Linked DNA regions of Homo sapiens: region 2 is linked to region 1. Evidence: promoter capture Hi-C in 16 types of primary human blood cells and fetal thymus (Javierre and others, 2016). All regions are on one chromosome and are shown on one strand. Each heading gives the region's core, a stretch centred on a gene start or on the middle of the fragment in contact. The rest is flanking DNA. Distances are from core to core; before and after follow the strand shown.

Region 1 (5,367 bases), core at 1,353-3,852:
TGTGACCCGCCTGCCTGCACCAGGAGGGCCTGCGGCGGCAGCCTCACATCACGCAAGGCTTGATGTCTTGGTAGGTGACCTGCTGGTGGTAGTAGGAGCCCCCGCCGGCCGAGTGCATGGAAGAGGACGCCATGGCGTTGAAAGAGAAGACAAACTCCTTTCGGTCACACATGCTGGGCGACTGCGAGTGATACCGCGGGATGCCTGCAAGGCGAGGCGACAGGAGGGGTTGGGGGAGCAGAAGAGTTAGCCACGGTGGCTCAGAGTTCAGGCAGAGGAGCAGTGCTCCCGTGGGGCGCACAGGGCCTGTCAGCCTGGCTCCAGAGCACGGCCGCCTCCCCGCTCTCCTCCCCGAGTCCCGGCCTTCCAGCTGCGCACCCAAGGAAAAGACTCCAGAACACTTGCCACGGCCTGCCTGCCTGCCTGCCTGCCTGCCTGCTGCGTGCCTGTCCAGCCTCGGACACCGTGCAGGGGCCCAGGGCTTCCAGAGCCATAGGGGAAGTGGTGAGGGAGACCAAGTGGAGGGCCCCTAACGCCCATGGCCGTCACCGCCAGGGCAGCCACCACCACCCCCAACCTCAGAGGCTACGACTGCCGGCGGGGTTGAAGGAGAGGCCAGTGCAGGGCCAGCGCCGGGCCAGCAGCAGGGGTGAGAAGAAGCTTCTCCAGAGAACAGGCCCCGGAGCCGGGGAGTCCCCCGCAGAGAGGCTGCCTAAGGCCTCCAGGCCTGGCTCCTGCCTCCTGGGGCTGCTGACAGCTGACCCTGGACTGGCCCTGGCAAGCTCACTCCAGCTTTTTCCAGAGCTGGGCCTGCAGGCTGCGGGGGGCCTGGGGCAGAATCAGGAGGCGAGGCTGCTGCATCTCCCTTGGCAGATGCTTCTGCATGTTCGGGGTATTGGGGTATCAGGGGTGTTGGGGGTGTGGGGACCTGAAAACTTGGATCCTAAAAAACAAGGAGCCCCCATGGCCCGGTCTGCAGCTCTGACCCTCCGGGGCCTGGCCACGGCACCCTCCTGCCTCAGTCACCACAAAATGCCCCTGGACTCAGCTGTGGGTCTGCCAGGTCTGGTCCCCTGAAAGGCCGGGGCTGAGCCTCTGAGCGCTGGCCCAGCGGCTTTGGGCCTAACACCTTCCGTTCCGCCCAGCCCCAGGCAGAGGCAGCCCTCCAGGCAGCCTGAGGGCCACCACCAGGGAGGGACAGCCATCTGGCCAGCGCTGGGAGCCTTGGGTCCATCCCAGGATCTTTCCAAGCTGTGAGGGGACTTAAGGGACACAAAAGGACTTAGGGCACTGGGGTCTGGGACATCTGGCTCAGGACCAGCCTACCTGGTCAGGCCTGGAGCAGCTGGCAGCTGGAGTTCGAACAGAAAGAGAAACAGATTGGCCCAAACTAGGGTCAAGAGCGGTAGTCACTCTTCGAAGGGGGAGAGGTGGGGCCAAGAGACACCTTGGGGAGCTGGTGCCTCCCCTCAGCCTTGGGGTTCCGACCACAGAAGTGGAGGGGCTCGCCCCAGCTGGGTCCCGCTGCCACTCAGACTCGACTTCCCGGGGACCAGGGCGCCCTCGGCCTCCCCACTCACCTTGCAGCTCGGCTGGGGCGTTGTGGCTGTTCTGGTGCAGATACGGCTGCTCCAGGGAGTGCGTGGAGAGGCTGCCGGACAGGGGGTTGGCCGCGGGGTTACAGGGGGACAGGGGCTGCTGCTTGATATAAGAGGCGCCGCTGTTGAGCGCCGCGGACGCCGAGGGCGGCCAGGCCGCCGCCGAGCCCGAGTAGACGGCGTGCGGCTCCATGACCCCACCGGCGCCGGTGGGCAGCAGCGGGGAGGCGGGCACCGAGCTGTCGTGGTGCGGGTACTCGCCGGCCGCCGCGCCGCCGCAGCCGCCCATGTACGAGTGGCCGCCGTTGGAAGGCAGGTGGGGCACCGAGTGGCTGGGCAGGGCCATGCCGTCCACGTTGCCCGGCAAGTGGCCGTTCATCATGCCCAGGCCGCCCTCCAGCGCCAGGCTGTTGGGCGGGCACGAGAGGCCGCCGGCCGAGCCCTGGAAGCCGTAGGTGTCCGGGAGGTGGTTGAAGCCGAGCCCGTTCATCATGCTGTACATGGGCTTGAGCGCCTGGCATTTCCTTCGGAAGCCGCGCGGCCGCCGCCGAAAGGAGCCCTCCTCGAACATGAACTCGCTGGCCGGGTCGATGGTCCAGTAGTGGCCCTTGCCGGGCCGCCCAAGGCCCTTGGGTAGCTTGATGAAGCACTCGTTGAGCGAGAGGTTGTGGCGCACGGAGTTCTTCCAGCCCTGGTAGGAGCCCCGGAAGAAGGGGAAGCGGCTCTGCAGGAACTGGTAGATCTCGCTCAGCGTCAGGCGCTTGGTGGGTGAACTCTGGATGGCCATGACGATGAGCGCGATGTAGGAATAGGGCGGCTTCTCCGGGCGCCGGATGCCGGCGTTGGTCTTCTTGGCCTTGGACGGGCCGGACGACGCGGGGTCCATGGCCGCGCCGCCTCCCCCGCCGCCGCCGCCGCCGCCGCCGTGCGGTGGCTGCTGCTTCTCGGGCGCCGAAGACATCGGGTGGCTGCTGCCGCCGCCGCCGCTGCCGCCGCTGCTCTGCGCCGCGGACGGGCCGGGAGGAGGAGGAGGAGGAGGAGGAAGAGGACGACGGGGGGGAGGAGGGCGAAGGGGAGGGGGCTGCGCGCGCGGGGCTGGCTGCACCTCTGCCGTCATCGGCGGCCACTTCTCCCGAGCGAGCCGCGGCGCGCCCGCCCCCGCGCTCCCGCCCGCCCTCCCCGAGGAGCTGCTGGATCCGCCGGCGGTTGGCTCAGAGCCCCTCTCTCTCCAACTCCCGCCTCCCCCACCTCTCTCCTCCCTCTTTCTTTCTCGCCCTCCCACAAGGAAAGGAGCCGAGCTGAGGCCGAGGGCAGCCCGGGCGAAGGCCGTGAGGAAGCTACCCCCGCCGGTATTTTTTGGGGGGAGGCACCACCTCCAGGTCTTACGGCCGTGCGCCCCAGCCGGGAGCAGCCCTGAGTCCCCGCCGCCCGCGGCGCTCGGCTCCGAGATTCCGGGCGAGGCAGCCTTCACTCCATCTCCGCTCGGCTGCGTCTCGCGGGTCGGCCTAAGACCCTCCCGGAGTTCCCTCCCTCCGTCCCTGCCCCCCTCGGGCCCCCGCGTTGGTGGGCGCTTAAAGAGCCCCCACTCTCGCCGCCCCGCGGCCGCCAGCAGAATCCGCCCCGCCTCCACCAACCTGGCGAGCAAGTGTTAATGCGCCCTCCGCCCGCGGTTCAGCCCCGGTGCGCGCTGGACCCCGCCTTCCCCGCCCGGGCGGCGCGGCGGGAAACGCTCCCTGGGCCGGGGCCTTCCCCGACGCGCACAGCCCTGTAGCAAATCGCAAGTGCGGCGGCCTCCCGGTCGTGACCATCGCAGGCACAGCCGGCTCGACTCCGGTCCTCGCGGCCGGCCGGCTAAGTTCCCGCGAGGGACCGCCTACCCACTCTCCCCGCCCCGGGAAGAACTGCGCCGCTCCCGGGATTTTTCGGACTCGCCCAGCAGCTTGCGAGCGGGCGGGCAGCCGCCGGGGCAGAGCGCAGGCGGAAAACGAAAGCGCAGCACGAGTCGCGGCCGCTTTGTCTCGGGCGCCGCGGGCCTGACGGGGGCGAGTGAGAACCCGCTGGCCCAGAGGCGACCCAGACCGCACAGGCCCCTGAATAAGCGGCGTGCTCAGTCACTCACCCGTGCGCGCACACCCTCGCGCTCTTGTCCACACATTAGCACACACATACATGTCTTGATGCACATGCAAACCCGGTAAATTACGCAAACAGACGTGTAAACACACCCATGCGTGTGTGCACACTCATATGCAGAGGGCGCTCAGGCATGTGCGCACCCACTAATGCACTCGTTGACACGGAAGCTTAAGGCCCACAGGAGCTTAAGTTCGCACTCACTCCCACTCACGCGTACACACGCCACGCTCGGATCTGAACTCACACGTAGTTCAGTTGCCCTCCCCCACCCCCAACACACACTGAAAACCCGCCTATTTGGCCCCGCGGCCCCGTTTTCAAAGCGCAGGTTCCGATTTCCCGAGAGATGGCAAAGGCCCTGGCAGGAAGTTTACAGGGTTTAACGTAAACAAGTTCTGGGGGATTCTTTAATAATAATAATAGAGAATTCCGCGTGCGCAGGGCGGGAGGGGGGAGTTGGCCTAATGCCCCTGTGGGCTCGGCCTGCCGCCGCCGCGGGGCCTCTGACACTGCGCGCCAGGCCAGGTTCCTGAGAGCAGACAGCGCGGGCTGGGAGCGCCGGCAAGGGCGGCCCTCGCGCACCTGGCTGCCAGCCCGCAGGGGGCTCGCACGCAGACCTGCCCTTGCCACCTCAGCGCTCGGGTGCGGGCTGGGGGCGGTGGAGCCACGAAAGGTGGTGCCGAGAGCGGAGCGCAGGACAGCGCAGGAGCCCCGGCGCATCGCGGCGCGCACAGACCCAGGTGAGTGCTGCTCTCGCAGCGACTGCTGGCCGGGCGCGGCCTCTCCCTCCAGGGTTCCGAGTTGAGAAGAGGGGGGCGAGGGGTGTTTTCGCGGGTCATCGCGAAGAGCCTAGAGGCCAAGCCCCAGCGCGAGCTGGGGCGAGAGGCGTGTGCCGGGCTCGCAGCACGGCCCGCGGCGCGGCGCGTTCAAAGCCTACCCGCCTCTCGGTTTTCTCCGGACTCCTTGTCTCCCGCTAACTACCCGCCCCCACCTTCCTGGCTCGGACGCCTTCATTTTCGGCGGGAGACGCCTGTCGCCTTCGGGGCGCCTGGCACGTCGGTGAGAGGAGCTGGGGGGCTCGCCGGCGCAGCCTGCCGGGCAGTCGCCGCCTCCTCCGCCAGATCTGCGCTCGCGGGAGAAGAGAGCCGCCTTCCCGCGCTGCCCTTCCGCTGGCCTCTCTGGGTCTCCGCGTGCAGACAGCCTGGCCCGCCTAGGGAAAGAATGAGTGTGGGACGTGACCCGTAGTGTGTGGTTGTGCATTCACGCAGGTAAACGCTCTCTGGCAGACCCGCTACCACTTCACACAACCAGCTCAGCCTCCGCGCACACAGACACGCTCCGCACCGCCCACGGCCTCAAACACCCTTCCCAGCGACCCTCACACAGCTCAGGCGCTCCCAACCCTTGGACCAACACACAGGCCTGCCCAACGGGGAGGGCACACTTTGGTTTAAGTGCACACTTCATGCACGCCCACATGTTCTCCACTGCGCGTTCGCCCACGCATAGCCAGGCGCCACGCGCAAATAATCATAGGTACCGCCGCTCCATACGTGCGCACGCGTCCACGAACACAAGCATTCTCACATTCTCTCCCAACTTTTGTGTGTGTGTGTGTGGCAAATGGCAGTTG
Region 2 (5,367 bases), core at 1,495-3,994, 120 kb after region 1:
ATGAGAAAATGAATGAGTGGATGGCTTTATGGAGCCCTTTGCAGCAGGACCTAGTGCCCAGGTTCTCGCCCTTGGCTACACATTAGAATCATCCAAAGAGCTTTAAAAAAAATAACCAAAGTCTTTCTTCTGTCCTCCAGAAATTCCAATTCTAATTCAGTTGCTCTGAGGTGGGACCTATGCAACTGCATTTTTAAAAAAGTATCCCAGGTCATTCTAATGTATAGCCAGGGTTGAAAGCTGCTGCCCCAGGCTAAAACATCTTACAGACAAAATCTCATTTAAAAACTCCATACTCACAAATACTTTATGGGGTTTCTTTTCTGATTCATTCTGTTTTACAGATTGGATGACAGATACAGATAGACAAGGGGCTAGAGCAAGGCTGTGAGCCCATCAGTTGCAGATGTAGACCCTGTCTGTGTGGCCCTGGGGTCACACTCTTACCTATTGCTCCATGCAGCCACTGAGTCAGAGAGATGCTGTTTATTTTCTGATTCATTCTATTTTACAGACGGGACGACAGATGCAGGGAGATAAGGGACTAGAGCAAGGCCGTGAGCCCATCAGCTGCAGACATAGACCCTGTCTGTGTGGCCCTGGGGTCACAGTCGTAGCTATTGCTCCATGCAGCCACTTTGTCAGAGGGGACCTTCAGAGGACTGGACACATCGTATGTGTCCAGGAAATACCTGTTGACTGGATGAGGTCTTCAATCCATGGTCCCCAACTTCCAGTCTAGAGCTCCTTGACTTCCCATCTACGTATCCGTCACTTGATCTATCCCAGATAGCTCAATAGCCTGCCTTTTAAAAATAATAGCCCGGAAATGCCACAAGATATATAAAGGCAACAATATCATTATAGCTGTTGCTGTGGTTCCTGTCTATTCCATTATTGAACCCCACCCAGTGCAACATTCTAAGAGGCATTTTTACATCTATTAATTCACCACAACCATAAGAGGAGGCTGCCAATCATTTTCTTAGGTTTTTCAAAGGTGCAAACTTAAGGCACAGAGAAATTAAGAAGCTTTTCCAGGGTCACACAGCTAGTGGGTAGCAAAGCCAACATAATGCATAAACGTTGACTTTCCGGGACTCCGGCCCCCATCTTCTCCACTTCTCTCCCTCACACCCACTTTTGAAGGAAAAACACAGCTTTGAAGCCTGAGGCTCCAGGCATGAGCAGCTCTGAGCTATATGAGTCACATGTTTCCTCATCTGTAAACGGGGGATTATTTTTATGCATCCATTGCTGATCTCATGGGGTTATCGTGAGATGAAAGGAGAAGGAATGTGGCAGCATTTTGTGAATTTGCAAGTGCAGTGCACGCTCACAGCCTGTTTTTTGTTACCGTGGACTCAGATATATGCAGGCCTCTGAGCCCAGGTAAGCTGCGGCCTCTCTTGGCTGCCTATACACCACGGTCAGTGTCTGCTGGAGGAGGCAGGTTTTCTTCTAATTTGCCTGCAACGGTGTTCAGTCTTCAAGCCCTCTCTTGGTTAAGGCCTGTGCACAGAGGGGCCCCTGCCCTATGCGGTTCTCCACCTCACAGTTCCCACTCACCCCCGTAGGGATGCAGGAAGGCAGATGTGGAAGATGGGTCACAAGCGGGCAACAAGCAAGACAGGGATGGGGCTGGGCTATGGGGAGGGACAGAATCAGAACCCGACGCACTCGCTCTAATGCACACTCTGGAGCCTACCACAAGGGATACTGTGGGAATCTGTGTCCATACAAAGCTCCCCAGGCACTTCTGCGGCCAGCAGATTTGAGATCTACTAATTCAATGTTTGTTTATTCAACCAAATACATTTCTTGGCCACTCCTCTGTGGTCTGCCTTGAGTTCAAGCTGGTTAAGGGATAGGGAGCTGTCATGTCTGGGGTCATACCTGGATCTTTCATAACCTGGGTGAGTGATTTAAGCTCTGTCTTCTTCGTAGTAATAGCAATAGTAGCTAATGCATATTGACAGCTTACTGTGTGCTTGCTATAAGGTGGTTACATCGCTGTGCTGGGGAATGCTTAACAAGTGGTTTTCCAAGGTTAAAAAAACCCTGAGTTATAGCGTTTGCCAGTCTCCATGGTGTAAATCCCCTCCTTACGTCTCATTTCAACCAGTGTGAGGCCATTGAACATAAAGTTGGGAAGCAGTGTGCAAGCTCATCGTTATTCCGTATTTCCACCAAAGTGGAAACGTGAGTATCCTTAAGGGCAGGGAGGAAAGTAAAATGTGGGGAAATAATTAGGAAGTGATGACTTTTGAGTGTTTATTACGTTTGTTTTAAATATAGTTTACTCCACTCTAAGTGTGCATAATGTAATGTTTAACGATGGCAAAATTCTTTAAGCTTTAATAGTTAGCTCTTGCCGGAGTTGGCTCCAGCCCTCACTGGGTGACTGCTGTGATGATCCCTATGTCACTGAGAATCCCGAGACACAGAGAGGCTGAGTAACTCACTCAAGGTCACAGGCAGAGCCAGGGTTCAAACCCAGGTGGCCTGGCTTCAGAGCCTACACGCCTCGCCATTGGGAATAATAATCACAGCAGCCTCCTACGGTGTTTTAAGGATTAGAGCCCATGACCCCGTTAGAGGAGTGCGCAGCACAGAGTACGTGATTAACTAGCGCTGGGTGTTACTAGCGTTGTTCCTGTTAATCCAAGCTGGTGTCCACAGGCACATTGAACACAATTCCTGTCCTTGATGAATGTACTATACAGACAGCGAGCTGCACACATTCAAGGCAAAGCAGTCTGTGTCAAGACAGAAGCACTCACAACACATACACTTCAGGGGCCCAAAGAAAGAGTTGATTGACTTTTTATGGGGCAAGGAAATCTTCATGGTGAAAGGAATGTTTAAACTGGGTTTTGAAGAATGCATAGGAGTTCACCAGGCAGTTTAATGAGTCAGGAGGATAAACCAAGTTACCTGTCTAGCTAGAAGAGCCTTTGGTCAAATTGCTGCCCTCTCATTCATGTCATGATCCCTCTTGCCATGAAGATTGATGCAAACTCCATCTCCAAATGGGGCTCAGTGACTTGCCTTAACCAGAAAGGTGAGCTCTTCACACCTTCAGGTCCAACCTTGCCTGGGCGTGGTTGGCTGCATCTCCCAAGGAAGCTTCCACATTGAAGCAGTGAAGCCTGGTAGTTGTGAGTGATGGAATCTTTGGGCTTGAACCTTGGTTCCTCCACTTCCTCCATGCAATGGGCACATCAAGTAACCTCAATTCATCTTCAATTCCCCATCCATGAATTAGGGGGCATGATAGCTCCTACTTCTCAAGGTTGTGCAAGAGTCCTGAGGCAATGCTTTAATAATTAGTGCAGTGCTCAGTAAGAGCCAGCTCTGCAGCATTGGCCAGCCCTGGGTGCAGGCACTGGTCCGGGCTGCCCAAACCTGGAAAGGTTGCTTTACGTGTGAGGCTCTTGAGCTGGGGTAGGATGTATGGGGAGCTGCAAAGCCCACCCAAATCCAGCCCTGCAGTCCCACGTGCCAGAATCAATGTGGGTATCAGGAAGCCAGTGGCCAGGTCACAGTAACCTGCCACTGTGCTTATTCCCACGAGGTAAAAGCATCATGGGGTAACACTGCCGCACGCACCCTCCATGTCTCAGCCCTGCCTTTGAACTCTGACAGTAATTTCACATATACATGTGGCTGCCAAGCCAGCGCGTTTGATGTCCTTTCCGGCTTTTGTAATGTTATTTCCTGTCTTGGATGGGGAGATGCGTTATTAATGTAGAAGAGTCGCTTTTTGGCATGAAATTCCTGACACGTAGAAAATCAGCATGAACGGACCTTCCGATTCAGATGTTGTGGGCCGTTTAAGAGGTTGCAGGGGCGGAGGTTGTTTCTTTCTTTTTTATTTTTTTTTCCTTCTTCTTCTAATGGGATCACTTTTGGGATCATCGAGTCTGAAAACATCCCTGTGAAAATAGAAACACAGTGGGGAAGGCCATCATGTTCAAGAAGTACCTGTTTCCTTGTAAATTAATTGTTGGTGGGTTTCATTTGAGAATCAAATGTAAACATTTCTCAAATTATAGATACAAAGCCCTTAAACGTTTGATATAAATGATAACATATACACTGAATAGAATAGATAATATAGTATCGGCAGCATAGAGCAGAGTTCAGGAGACATTTACATGAAGGGCCAGATGACAAGTATTTCAGGCTGTTCAGTTCCTACTGTCTCTCTCAATTACTCAGCTTTGCCATTGCAGCAGGGAAGAAAGCCGGAGATGATGCTTTGAATAACGAGTGTGACTGTGCTGTAATTAAACTGGATGTGTTCTCGGAGAATTCTCCTGTTTTTGTGGCAGAATCTGGCTGTGGTCACAGGTGATGGGCCAGATTTGTCCTACAGACTATGGTTTGCTCACCTCTGGCTTGGAGCACTGGCTTAAGCATCAGATTACATGATTTTCTAGCTGTCAGACCTTTGGGAAATTATCTGAGAGCCTCAGTTGTGCCACCTGTAGAATGGAGATAAGGATTCTATGTAAAGCACTGGGTTGTTGAGAGAATTAAATGAGTTGATGTATGTGAGATGCTGAACATAGAGCCAAGCAGGAAGAGTCCAAGGTCATGGGAGTCGTGGCTGAGATTAGGATGATGGAGATGATGATAGAGGGAGGGGAGCTGGGTCTCAGTGGAGCACTGGCTGGGAAGTCAGAAGCCTGGTTTCTATACTCTCCTTAGCTGCTGACTCTGGGGGACCTGGGTGAATCCTTCCTCCTCTCTGGCTTCAGTTTTGTCACCTTGCAGGTGAGGAAGTTGGACTGAGGAGTGTCCAGGCTTCCTTCCTACTCAATAACTCTGGGATTCTATAGTGCCCTTTAAAAGATATGGCATTGCGCAGTCGGCACTCGCTAAAATCAGTGCCATATTAACCATTGCACCCACTGACACCTCAAAGCCAAGGCCTCCCGCCGTCTGAAAACCTGGTCTTCATCAGAAAGTCCCCATCGCTGCTCTGTGAGGCCGCTCGTTCATTTACTCATTGGTGTGTTTGTTCAGAAGTGATCAAGCCTCCTACCACATGCAGCGCAGATGCTGAAGCTACCAGGGCGAGGATAACCAAAGTCTCTGCCCTCGTGTGACTGGCTCTCATGAGAAATCCCCTTTGTAGGGAACAAGTCTGATCCGGCCGTGGTCACTGCAGGGAGCGAACGAGTCTGATCCATCTGTGGTCACTGAAGTGGGTGAACGAGTCTGATCCGGCTGTGGTCACTGCAGTGGGGTGAATTGTGTCCCTGAAAAAGATGTGTCCACATTCTAATCTTCCAGACCGCACGAATATGAACTTATTTGGAAATAGAATCTTCATAGACATAATTAAGATAAGGATCT

The links. The method cuts DNA at HindIII sites, captures the fragments that hold promoters and counts their contacts. A CHiCAGO score of 5 or more calls a contact.
Region 2: a fragment that was not itself captured here is called in contact with the fragment with the promoter of FOXF1 in region 1 in 1 of 17 cell types (endothelial precursors); the score reaches 5.6 in endothelial precursors.

The regions. Positions count from the first base shown.
Region 1 is chr16:86,507,762-86,513,128 of GRCh38, reverse strand. FOXF1 (forkhead box F1) reads right to left here and starts at 2,602. Exons shown (of 2, transcript NM_001451.3): 1 at 1,581-2,602; 2 at 1-204. The coding sequence starts at 2,559. The coding sequence ends at 44. It overlaps FENDRR (FOXF1 adjacent non-coding developmental regulatory RNA), which reads left to right and starts at 4,269. Exons shown (of 4, transcript NR_033925.1): 1 at 4,269-4,474. RefSeq lists an enhancer at 343-1,109. The HindIII fragment of the contact is 3,241 bases long and covers 663-3,903 here.
Region 2 is chr16:86,388,060-86,393,426 of GRCh38, reverse strand. No RefSeq gene overlaps it. Among named protein-coding and RNA genes, the nearest start is that of LINC00917, 45 kb to the right of the region's middle. The HindIII fragment of the contact is 774 bases long and covers 2,358-3,131 here.